2 separate regions of the Homo sapiens genome follow, and region 1 is linked to region 2. The links are contacts of gene promoters, found by promoter capture Hi-C in human tissues and cell types (Jung and others, 2019). All regions are on one chromosome and are shown on one strand. Each heading gives the region's core, a stretch centred on a gene start or on the middle of the fragment in contact. The rest is flanking DNA. Distances are from core to core; before and after follow the strand shown.

Region 1 (6,655 bases), core at 872-3,371, 220 kb after region 2:
AAAGCTTCTAATAAGGGGAATTATGAGGAGACTGCACCATGACTAACGACAAGGAAGAGAAAGGAAGTGGGATAAGATGACATAACTACTCCCAAACAGACCTAGAATCAGAAAATGAATGGAATCTCACGTGCCCTTTCGCTATCACAGGCTGAGAGAGACATGGCAGCAACTAGTTGCCTAAGTCTCAGTTCACTCCAAGTTCTCTTTTCCAGCCAGCTTCCTCAAAGTGCTTTCCCACAAACATACTTTCTACCTATAGAATCTGGAGTTATGGATCAAGTACGTGAGGAACAGGACAGAAAATCAGCCACTTAATGCACTGGGGGAAAAAGCAAAGCAGATGAAGGAAGCAGGCCTGGAGCTTGTCTTTCAAAATGACTTACACCCCTGGTTGTGGACTAGAAACATCTGACAGAAAGACCAAGGTGAAGGAAAATTCTCAGGATGACTAAACCACTACTAATAAATACCTTTTGCCTGAGGAACCCAAAATGTTTTGTAAACAAATAAACCAAATCTGATTTTTTCCCCCAACCCACATCCTGCTACCAACTTATTACTGCACTGATGCCTACAGAGAGTGGGCATTTTCCAAAAGGATCACTCTAGAGGTCAAGTGAGGAAGTCACATGCTGAACCCAGGAGTCCCGATTCTGAATGTACAAGCTCTTTCCATTGTCTCATGTTCCTTTTTCCAGTTATACCCTTACCCCACTCCAGGCCTGAATTCTTATGGAACCAACCAAAACTATTCTAGTAAACCACAAGAATAAACTGATTCCTCATGGATCTGGACAGGGGTGAGAAGGCACTCTATTCTGTGATTCCTTTAACAAAAGCCTAAAATTAAATAATCTGAAACAAGTTTTCTCACAATCTCATTCAATTTCCACGCAGGCCTGTTCATCCCTCTTAGTGGCTGCTCCGGAGTAGTCAACCAAGTGTAATCTGATAGGGACTTCTTCAAAACTTGCTCCGGCCTTCAGAAACACCCTTCTGTCCTGAACGGCCTGAGGCAGCTGAGGCTCCCCCTGCTCACAACACATTTTTCTTCTTAGTTCAAGGTTTAGTTGATCCTGAAATAAGTGGTATGTGGAGATAAAGAGTGTAACAGAGAACACATGAAGCCCACGGGAAAAACAGAACAAATGTCACAAGGATCAGAGAAATCCCTGAAACTCGAGGGAGGTGTCAAAGTTGGAAATCCTGAATGGGAAGGGCACTGTCAAATCTCTCCCCTACAGACAGAAACCTCTAGAAAGTTGGGGGATTGAGGAGGGAGAAAGAGAAGCTAAAGAAAGTTATAGGGATCATAATGCATCCCAGAGAAGAGTGAGGACTAGGTTCAAAGTAAGAATGTAAATGGTACTTTTGGATTGATGACAAGGGCCCGAGATCCCTTAAGGAGAAGGGAACAGGCAATTCTTGGAAGCCAGGAGCTGGCTGGGTAGGTGGGTGACAGTGAGGTAATGGAATCAGAAGCAGCACAGGAAGACAGGGATGCAATCTTTAGCTCAGGGAAATGGGAACCCAGTGCTGGAGTTGCACAGGGACATAGGAGGAAAAGTGCAAACTAGGAAAAGAGATAAAGGTGGAGTCCATGGAAAAGGTTTGGGGCAGGGGCAGAGACGACGAGGAAGGACAAGGATGGGCATTATGGGAGTCGTCTGATATGGAAAGGGTTCATGACTTAAAAAAAAGAATTATTCGAGACGTAGGCAACAGGGATGAGTGAGGGAGGGGGGAATCCCCGAGGCAGAGGGAGGAGCTAATAGAAGAGGAAGCCAAAAAGCGGAGGAGGACCCCAGGCCTGAGAGGAAAGGGTGGAGAAGGAACCCGGGGTGCAGCTGACACCAAGAGGGCAGTTTCGTAGTCGAACTCAGGTGGGGAAGACTGTGCGGGACAGGGTGGGAGAGGGACCCCCCCCCCCACCCAACAGGGCAAAGGTGACTCATGAAGGAGGAGTAGCTTACCTCTGGGGGACCCCCGCGGAGGGGGTGCGGGCAGTCGCGGTTGGACTGCCGACACTGCCGCCTCAGCAGCAGCGACCGCTCCCGGGTTCCATTGGCCGCCTGCGCTTCCCTGACAGCGGCCGCGGAGGCTGCACCAGGCCCCGGCTGCGGGGCTGCCCGCGGCGCCGCCTGAGGGGGCCTTCAGGCTGCCACAAGTTCGACCGGGCCACACAACCTCTTCTTCCTCCCTCAGTACAACCAAGACCAAAAAAATAATAAAATAAAATAAAATTCCCCAGCAGGTCTCGATGTAGTATTCTTCTCCGGAGTCCAAGCCAAGCCTTTCTTCCCAGGATACGCTTTCCTGCTTCCCCAGCGGTCAGGACCCTACCGATTCCATAGTAATCTAAGGAGTCGGGTGAGCTGCCTGGAACATGCCTGTTCAGAAATAGAAAAGGGGGCGGGGAAAAGATGTTTGGAAGCTCTCGAGGGAGAGAGGGCGAAGGGAGGAGCTTACGGGTGGGAGGAGGGGCCAATATTTAAGAAGCGGACCTAAGCGATAGCGTTTGCGAGGCTAAAGAAGCCGAGAGAGAAGTAAAATTTGCTGCATAAGTAGGGTGAGCAGGCGGCCGTGGGTGCCCTGTTAAAGAAGTATGGACATATGCATACTTCCAGAAGTATATTAACATGCAAGTTATATGTAAACGACCGTTTGAGTAACTAACCAAATTACCGTAATTGCAATCAATGACTTTTCCCCCTCCCGTATGCTACAAGACTCCCTTAGTAAATCAGGCCGTGGGATGGACGCTGGGTTCCTAGAAGGGCGCGCAGGAAGACGGCGGACGGGGAAGACGTTCTTTCTGACTGCCCTTTTCCTACTTATCTTGGAGGACGATGCGGAGTTTAAGCTCCTTAACATTTCGGGAATGGCGCGGTCCAACCGCGTCAGTCTTTTCGCCGTTAGAGGCCCGACTCGAGGCCGTGGTTCTGCCTCCGAGGTCACCAACCTGCCTGGGCAGCCTGTGACCTCCAGCATCCATATGCCCAGCCCTCCAGGGAGGGGCTGGACAGGGCCAGGTTGGGAGAGGTGAGTGAAACGACAAAGGCTTGGAGGGCACAATCCCTTCTTCCAAACAAAACGAAACCATATTAGGCCAAACAAATAAACAAAAACACGCCATGCAAATGGGCCTCTGGTGTTGCTTTTGTGTATTTTTCGTTTGTTTGTTTGTTTTGTAAAGACAGGGTCTTGCTATGTTGCCCAAGCTTGTCTCGAACTGTTAGCCTCAAGCAATCTGCCGGCCTCAGGTACCAAAGTGCTGGGATTATAGGCCCGACCTCGCCCAGCAAGTTTTTTGTGTATTTTTCGGTTAAGATTGTTGATTTAGAGCCCTCTTTGTCCTCAGAACCTCTATCTCAATGCCTTTCCTAGGGCTTTACTTAATATGCAATGCCCCTCATTAGTGCCTTACTTAATACATTGAGGCTAGTTATTTGAGCCCGGGTCTTGAATGCCATCTTCCCTGCCACTTACAAGCCGTTTGATTTGGAATAACTAATGTAACCTCTTTAAACCTCAGTTTCTATGTCTACAAAGAAGACATATGGATGAAGTAATATTAGCCCATTACAGGGTTTTGTTAGGATCAAGAGAGTACAAGTTGCTACTATAGTACTTTATTATTAATTATTGGGACAATCATACAGGATAGATGATGAAAGAGTCACTGCTACAATGTTTAATTGGAAGGCAGAATAAAGTGTAATAGCTTGAAAATGCCTGTGTAAAACATGCAGTATATACAACAGTAGAACAAATGGGGTACCTAACCTAATTGCTGAAGGGACATAGTGGAGTTTAAGTTAATTTGGAAGGCCTATATGTGTATGGACACACACACATACACACACACACACACACACACACACACACACACACACCAGTATATGGTGAATGAATGAATGGAAGGCTTCTTAGAAATATTGTGAGTCAGGTCTTAGAATAGATATTGGATATAACCCAGCAAAATAAAAGACAAGCGAGCATTCTGAAAGCAAAAAAATTGTATGTTGAAGAATATAAATGGGAATTTGCTCATATCATGAGGAGAGGGCAAGCAGACAAGCTAGGTTAAAGCAGGAGTACAGTATGAAAGATGAACAAAGAATGGGGACAAGAGTGCCAAAGATAGTTTAAATTTGTCAGCTGGGCACAGTGGCTCACACCTGTAATCCCAGCACTTTGGGAGGCTGAGGTGGGCAGATTGCTTGAGCTCAGGGGTTTGAGACCAGCCTGGGCAACATGGTGAAACCACGTCTCTTCAAAAATACAAAAATTAGCCTAGCTGGCATGGTGGCATGCACCTGTAGTCCCAGCTACTTAGGAGGCTGAGGTAGGAGGATCACTTGAGCCTGGGAGACAGAGGCTGCAGTGAGCCAAGATCATGCCACTGCACTCCAGCCTGGACAACGGAGTGAGACCCTGTCTCAAAAAAAAAAATCGGCTTGGCGTGGTGGCTCACGCCTGTAATCCCAGCACTTTGGGAGTCCGAGGTGGGTGGATCAGTCGAGGTCAGGAGTTTGAGACCAGCCTGACCGACTTGGTGAAACCCTGTCTCTACTAAAAATACAAAAATTAGCTGGGCATGGTGGTGGGTGCCTATAATCCCAGCTACTAGGGAGGGTGAGGCAGGGAATCACTTGAACCTGAGAGGCAGAGGTTGCAGTGAGCCGAGATTGCGCCATTGCACTCCAGCCTGGGCAACAGAGCGAGACTCCATCTCAAAAAAAAAAAAAAAATTCTCACCACTGGTCTGGATTGGGGAGAATCACCAGTCCACATGTTAGGCCCACCAGCTCTTGGCCAGCTTCCAATCAGCTGTCCCGCAAATATCATGAGGCGATGACCCTGCTTTAGCCTAGAGTTTAAAATGTCATGTATCCCCTCAAGGGATAACCTTCCAAACAGCCACAAGACTAGCCTTTTGAAACATTGTAGAAAGACATGTGACAACCTTTTTTATAGTAGGAAGTTTTCTTATTTTCCAATGACAGAAAAAATTTCAGAAACATCTCTTCAAATTTGAAGCAGGAACTTTTTATAGCTAGTCAGTTATAGACCACCCTACTAAAAATACACACACACACAAACATAAGTAGAAGATTTTAAGTTTCCTATTTATAGCTCTAAGGGTTCATATGTATAAATTTCTTTCTTTCTTTTTTTTTTCTTTTTGAGACAGAGTCTCCCTCTGTCGCCCAGGCTGGAGTGCAATGGTGCAATCTTGGCTCAAGGGACCCTCCTCCACCTCCTGGATTCAAGCGATTCTTCTGCCTCAGCCTCCCGAGTAGCTGGGATTACAGGCATGCGTCACCATGCCCAGCTAATTTTTGTATTTTTAGTAGAGACGGGGTTTCACCATGTTGGCCAGGATGGTCTTGATCTCTTGAACTCGTGATCCGCCCGCCTCGGCCTCCTAAAGTGCTGGGATTACAGGCGTGAGCCACTGTGCCTGGCCCATATGTATAAATTTCTTTGCATCCCTTTATGACTGTCTTTCTGCCGTTTTCGGGAGGGTTTCTTTTTTTTTTTTTTATCATCTTCTGTTTTTTGTTTTTGTTTTTTTTGAGACAGGGTCTTGCTTTTTTGCCCAGGCTGGAGTGCAGTGGCGTGATCTCAGCTCACTGCAAACTCTGCCTCCCGAATTCAAGCGATTGTCGTGCTTCAGCCTCCCAAGTAGCTGGGATTACAGGTGCACGCCACCACGCCCAGCTAATTTTTGTATTTTTAGTAGAGATGGGGTTTCACCATGTTGCCCAGGCTGGTCTCGAACTCCCAACCTCAGGTGATCTGCCCACCTTGGCCTCCCAAAACGCTGGGATTATAGGTGTGAGCCACTGTGTCTCTACCAAAATCACAAAAATTAGCGAGACGTGGTAGTATGCACCTGTGGGAAGGCTTAGGCAGGAGAATTGCTTGAACCTGGGAGGTAGAGGTTGCAGTGAGCTGCAATCATGCCACTGCACTCCAGCCTGGGTGACAGAGTGAGACACACACACACACACACATACACACACACACACACAAAGATTGAATGCAGAAGCAGATATGAGAACCCAGTCTGACATTAAAGAAATTTCCCCCTTTAAAAACAATGCCAATTGTCTCATTGATTTTTTTTCTTGTTTCGGAAAATATAGTTATTTTTCAAAAATGATTTAGTTCATATATATATATATATATATTTTATATATATATTTTTTTCTTTTTCTTTTTTTTTTTTTTAATTGAGACAGAGTCTCACTCTGTTGTCCAGGCTGGAGTGCAGTGGTGCCATCTCAGCTCACTGCAACCTCCGCCTCCCGGGTTGGAGCCATTCTCCTGCCTTAGCTTCCTAAGTAGCTGGGATTACAGGCACCCACCACCACACCCAGCTAATTTTTGTTATTTTCGTAGAGACAGTGTTTCACCATGTTGGCCAGGCTGGTCTCAAACTCCTGACCTCAAGTGATCCACCCGTCTCGTCCTCCCAAAGTGCTGGGATTACAGGCATGAGCCACCACACCCGGCCAAAAATATTTTTTAAATAAATATTTTGACTAAGTTATGTTTTCCTCCCCCTGATTTGTCTTTTTTCTCCTCAGTCTCCTTAGTTGTCAAATTGTAAAACTGAATGCCATTCTCTCCCCCCACATTA
Region 2 (6,513 bases), core at 3,413-5,912:
AATTGGATGGGCATGGTGATGCATACCTGCAGTCCCAGCTACTCAGGAGGCTGACATGGGAGGATCTCGTGAGCTCAGGAGTTGGACTTACTGTGAGTTATAATTGTGCCACTGTACTCTGGCCTGGATGACAGAGCAAGACCCTGTCTCTAAAAAAAAAAAAAAAAGGAAAATATTGTACAGATTAATCTATTGAAGGGTTATGCCTAGACCAAAAATGAAAATATGAAGGTGCCTCAACATGATACTGATAAGGGAAATAAACATTAATAGTTTAAAGCAGTAACAAAGCAGAATAAACATAAGCGGCTTTTGGAGTACTGATATAAAAGAGGTAAATGTGATTATCTGAATAAAGTATAAGAGTCTGGATTTGTTCTTAGTGCATATATAAAAAGAAAACAGCAGAGAAAACTACTTGGTGTTGATCTTTTGAAACCTGTATGTTTTTGACTTGGCGCGGTGCCTCACGCCTGTAGTCCCAGCACTTTGGGAGGCCGAAGTGGGTGGATCACCTGAAGTCAGAAGTTTAAGACCAGCCTGGTCAACATGGTGGAACCCCATCTCTACTAAATATACAAAAATTAGCCGGCTGTGGTGGTGGGTGCCTGTAATCCCAGCTACTTGTGAGATTGAGGCAGGAGAATCGCTTGAACCTGGAAGGCGGAGGTTGCAGTGAGCCGAGATTGCGCCATTGCGCTCCAGCCTGGGCAACAAGAGTGAAACTTCATCTCAAAAAAAAAAAAAAAAAGAAAGAAAGAAACCTGCATGTTTTCAACAAAACCTTCTATCTAAATAAGAATGAATGAGTTTGTTTTTCAGCATCTCCTTTATTTTTTATTTTTTATTTTTTATTTTTTTCTCCAAGGCGGAGTCTCGCTGTGTTTCCCAGGCTGGAGTGCAGTGGCGCAATCTTGGCTCACTGCAACCTTTGCCTCCCGGGTTCAAGCGATTCTCCTGCCTCAGCCTCCTGAGTAGCTGGGACTACAGGCATGTGCCACCACGCCCAGCTAATTTTTGTATTTTTACTAGAGATGGGGTTTCACCGTGTTAGCCAGGATGGTCTTGATCTCCTGACCTCATGATCTACCCGCCTCGGCCTCCCAAAGTGCTGGGATTACAGGCATGAGCCACCGCACCTGGCCTATCAGTTAGCATCTCCTTTTATAAATATTTTTTTTACAATGAAATAACTTGTGTCCTCATTTAAATAAATTTTCCAGTTGACTATTGGTTTCTTTTTCTGTTTCTTTTATTTGAAATAACAGTATTCTTAGTTAAGTTTCTATAATGTCAAAGGAAAGATCTTGACTAAGCTATTGATATTGAGAGGTAGTGTGGTAAAAGAGAAGAAGCAATGTATGTGATATACACAGAATTTTGGAATCAGAATTGTGCTCAAATAATTATTGGTTGACTAGCTGCTTAACCCTAGGAAAACTTCATACTTTTCTATGCCTTGTTTACTTATCTGCAAAATTGGGATATAATAATACCTACTTTATGAGGTTGTTGTGAGAGTTTGAGAATTTGTATTTCAAGGTCCATTTTATAGTAGGGCTTCAATAATAGCTATTAAATGAAAACGTAGTATCTTAGCGAAGCTTGACCCCAACATGCCCACCAGGGGGCAATAGTGATCTTCATTTTATAAGCTATCAACAGTTATTTAAAATAATTTTGCATTCAGCAGGATGATACAAAAACTTTACATTAAATTTATATATACATGTAATCAGAACATTCACAATCTTTTGTATTCATATTGGTTCAGTCACACTGATTAAAACAACTTTTTTTTTTTTTTTTTTTGAGACGGAGTCTCGCTCTGTCGCCCAGGCTGGAGTGCAGTGGCCCAATCTCAGCTCACTGCAACCTCCGCCTCCTGGGTTCAAGTGATTCTCCTGCCTCAGCCTCCCGAGTAGCTGGGATTACAGGCGCCTGCCACCATGCCTGGCTAATTTTTGTATCTTTAGTAGAGACGGGGTTTCACCATGTTGGCCAGGCTGGTCTCGAACTCCTGAGCTTGTGATCCACTCGCCATGGCCTCCTAAAATGCTGGGATTACAGGCGCCTGCCACCACACCCAGCTAATTTTTTTGTAGTTTTTAGTAGAGATGGGGTTTCACCATGTTGCCCAGGCTGGTCTCAAACTCCTGGGCTCAAGCAATTCACCTGCCTTAGCCTCCCAAAGTATTGGGATTACAAGTGTGAGCCACTGTGCCTGGCCTTTTTTTTTTTTTTTTTTTTTTTTTTGAGACAGAGTTTAACTCTGTCACTCAGGCTGGAGTGCAGTGGCATGATCTTGGCTCACCGCAAACTCTGCCTCCCAGGTTCAAGCGATTCTTGTGCCTCAACCTCCTAAGTAGCTGGGATACTGGTGCCTGCCACCACGCCCAGCTAATTTTTGTATTTTTAGAAGAGACGGGGTTTCACCATGTTGGCCAGGCTGGTTTCAAACTCCTGACCTCAGGTGATCTGCCCACCTCGGCCTCCCAAAGTGCTGGGATTACAGGCATGAGCCACCGTGCCTGGCCCTGACTTCTTGAAAGAAGAAAAACTGGAAAGAATATTTAAGCATAGGTAGTGGGAAAACTTAAAAATTAAGAGTAGACTGGGTGCGATGGCTCACGCCTATAATCTCAGCACTTTGGGAGGCTGAGGCAGGTGGATAGCTTGAACTCATGAGTTCGAGAGCAGCCTGGGCAGCATGGTGAAACCTGGTCTGTACAAAAAATACAAAAAAAAAAAAATTAGCCAGGCATGGTGATGCACACCTGTAGTCCCAGCTACTTGGGAGGCTGAGGTGGGAGAACAGCTTGGGCCTGGGAGGCAGAGGCTGGAGTAAGCCAAGATTGTACCACTGCACTGCAGCCTGGGCGATAATGCCAGAGTTTGTCTTGAAAAAATAAATTAAGAGTACATTTAAAAATAAAATATATTGCTTAGTGTGCTGGCTCACGCCTATAATCCCAGCACTTTGGGAGGCCGAGGTGGGCAGATCACTTGAGGTCAGGAGTTCGAGACCAGCCTGGCTAACATGGTGAAACCCCGTCTTACTAAAAATACAAAAATTAGCTGGGCATGGTGGTGCGCGCCTGTAGTCCCAGTTACTAGGGAGGCTGAGTCAGGAGAATGGCGTGAACCTGGGAGGCAGAAGTTGCAGTGAGCTGAGATCGCGCCACTGCACTCCAGTCTGGGCAACAAGAGCAAAACTCCGTCTCAAAAAAAAAAGAAAAAGAAAAAAGAAAAGAATACAGGAATAGCCAATAGAGGGTGCAGCAGCTACTTCTACTTCTATACTAACAAAGCTTAATGTCATGCCAGCTGACAAGAAATGTTTATAGGGTCCAGCCCCAGCATCACCAGGCAGGACAAAGAAGGGTAGATTCGGAACTGAGAGGCAATAAATTTGTAACTGGCATAATAGGTATCTCTGAAATTATAGTGAAAGAAATAGAGAAATATAATTCATTTTATAAAAGTAAGATTTATACAAAACTGTTGAGTAATACTTTTTTTCCCCAACAAGGAAATATCTACAGTTAGAGTAATACTTTTGGTTCATAAAGTTAGGCATGTCTGTTGCCAGATCTAGTGCGCTTCCCTCTTACAACTTAGCTATGAGAATAGCACACAGATATAAGAGAAGAAGGTTATGAACAAAGTCTTTTTAAAAGTACATCTTGGCTGGACACAGTGGCTCATGCCTATAATCCCAGCACTTTGGGAGGCCGAAGCAGGCAGATCACCTGAAGTCAGGAGTTCAAGACCAGCCTGGGCAACATGGCGAGACCTCGTCTCTACTAAAAGTATAAAAATTAGCTGGGCGTGGTGGTGCACACCTGTAATCCCAGCTACTCAGGAGGCTGAGATAGGAGAAGCGCTTGAATCCGGGAGGCGGAGGTTGCAATGAGCTGAGACCGTGCTACTGCACTCCAGCCTGGGAGACAGAGCGAGACTCCATCTCAAAAAGTAAATAAATAAAAAATAAAAGTACATCTTGACATAACTAAAGTATTTTTAACATTTAGCGTTTTTAGTGTTAATCTATTGTACTACCCTTTGACATTCAATATATGAAACTTTTTATTTATATATTTATTTATTGAGATGGAGTCTTTCTCTGTCACCCAAGCTGAAGTGCAGTGGTGCGATCTCGGCTTACTGCAATCTCCACTTCCTAAGTTCAAGCGATTCTCTTGCCTCAGCCTCCTGAGTAGCTGGGATTATAGGTGCCCACCACCAACCCAGCTAATTTTTGTATTTTTAGTAGAGACAGGGTTTCACCTTGTTGGCCAGGCTGGTCTCGAACTCCTGATCTCAGGTGATCCATCCGCCTCGGCCTCCCAAAGTGCGAGGATTACAGGCATGAGCCACAGCATCCGGCCATGAAACTTTAGGTTTTTAACTATTCTTGTACTAGAGGTGAATCCTATTCTTCACATCTATCTAGCTGATGAAAAAAGGTAGTATGATTGGGTAAAGCCCAGAAGGGGACTATTCCCTTATCACTGCTGAGCTTGGGGTGAGGTATGCATTTTACACTTACTGCCTGCTGCCAAGGAGAGCTCTGCCCAGTCAGCTTAGGGAGTGGGTAGCACTCTTGGTCTGTTAGCTACTAATGCTCAGCACTGGCAGTGCCAAGAGAATGATTAAATGAGGGGAATGTAGTGGCCCTGTACAAAGTATACTTTTTTTTTTTTTTTTTTTTTTTGAGAAGGAGTCTCGCTCTGTCGCCCAGGCTGAAGTGCAATGGTGTGATCTCAGCTCACTGCAAGCTCTGGCTCCCGGGTTCATGCCATTCTTCTGCCTCAGCCTCCCAAGTGGCTGGGACTACAGGCGCCCACCACCACGCCCAGCTAATTTTTTGTATTTTTAGTAGAGACGGGGTTTCACCATGTTAGCCAGGATGGTCTTGAACTCCTGACCTCGTGATCCACCCGCCTCGGCCTCCCAAAGTGCTGGGATTACAGGCAGGAATGGCGCCCGGCCCTCCAAGTATATTAATTTAATCCACTTTAAAGGAAAAACTTTTTAAACCTTAAAAGAATTTTAACACTGATATAATTGGCTTATATCAGTTTGAGTTAGAGAACAAGATTGAGGACATTAGAAGGAAAAGCTGAGGTTTTGATTTAATAAGCTGTTTTTAATTTGCCTCAATTTTTTCTCTACATTGGACCTCATTTGTCTTTCTTACTGAAATAGGTGACCCCCATGCCTCAACAGTACAGTTTTCAAATTCTACCACCTCAGTGCTGGCTACCCTTGCAGCTCTTGCTGAGGCATCAGTCCCCCTCTCCAACTCACACAGAGCCACAGGTAGGTAAGGGATATGCTGCTGGGTGAATCACCACTTTTTCTTTTGTTTTTAAGTCTCCAGCAGATTTAATTTGCATGAAATATTATTAAAGAATTGCATTTAATTAGAGGCAGCTAAGGAAAAGGGATGTGGCATCATTGAACATCAGAAAGAAAAATTGCTAGGTGGTATAATCAGACAGCTGAATAATATCAGAGAATGACTGAATTATTCCTTTGTGTGTTTACAATTTGAAGTTTGTTCTCCCTGACTCTAGTTACTTCAGATTGAAATGTCTATTCTCATATTAGCAGATTTTTTTGGAGATACTCTATGTTATGTTTTGACTGATGCTATCATGGAATGATTCAAAATAGCAGCCCAGATATCTTATATTAAAGTATCAAAATACATGGGACTGGTACCTTTTTCGTTGTCATATCCTTTGTACTTCATGGCTTGCTTTTATTTTCACTGGAGATGTTATTTTGGCATTTCCAAAGGAGTTGAGCAAATATAGGCTATGTATTGCCTTTCTGATATTTAAAACAAAAAAGTTTTCAAGTCATTTAGCCAGAGCTAGTGGTCTGTGGGGGGAAGACTTAAGGCTTCATATAGGCAGGGGCATATAGTCATAGTTAGGGCTCAGTAGACATTTAGAAATCTGTCTGGAACCCTCTGGCCATCTGCTCCATCATATATGAAAGCAGAATGTTCTGATTTCTTTCTGCCATGACATTTGGGTGGTAAGAACATTCTTCCAATTCCAATCCTATTTTTCTGAATGGGTGTAATCATAAAGATCTCTACTCAGATGTATATGAGGGAACAACATAGCAAAGGGAAAAGCAGTGTATTAAACTTGTCCTTGCTATTCTTTTGCTTTGCTCTTTGATCTTGGATAAATCACTTCTCCAGGTTCTAGTTTTCTCATCTTTGGCATGATGGTTGGATTAGGTTATCTATCCAGGACCTTTCAGCTTTAATATTTAACTGTTCTTTGTTTCTAAGAGGTGTGAATCCTTTATTTCCATTGAACTACCTAGATGTGTTGCATATGGATGGTTGATACCCCACTTATTACTGCAAAGTTCTATCTGTGACTCTTTCTTTCTTTCTCTCTTTCTTTCTTTCTTTCTTTCTTTCTTTTCTTTCTTTCCTTTCTTTCTTTCTTTCTCTTCTCTCTCTTTCTTTCTTTCTTTCTCCTT

Evidence for each region. The method cuts DNA at HindIII sites, captures the fragments that hold promoters and counts their contacts. A contact is called where the count stands out against the background at its distance.
Region 1: the fragment with the promoter of PI4KB here is called in contact with a fragment that was not itself captured in region 2 in 2 of the 25 tissues and cell types used here (adrenal gland and bladder).

What each region holds. Positions count from the first base shown.
Region 1 is chr1:151,325,295-151,331,949 of GRCh38, forward strand. It overlaps PI4KB (phosphatidylinositol 4-kinase beta), which reads right to left and starts at 2,122. Exons shown (of 12, transcript NM_001369623.2): 1 at 1,977-2,122. RefSeq lists an enhancer at 1,630-2,554 and a silencer at 2,490-2,559. The HindIII fragment of the contact is 6,333 bases long and covers 1-5,113 here.
Region 2 is chr1:151,098,351-151,104,863 of GRCh38, forward strand. GABPB2 (GA binding protein transcription factor subunit beta 2) reads left to right here. Exons shown (of 9, transcript NM_144618.3): 6 at 5,212-5,325. Among named protein-coding and RNA genes, the nearest start is that of GABPB2, 31 kb to the left of the region's middle. The HindIII fragment of the contact is 8,752 bases long and covers 287-6,513 here.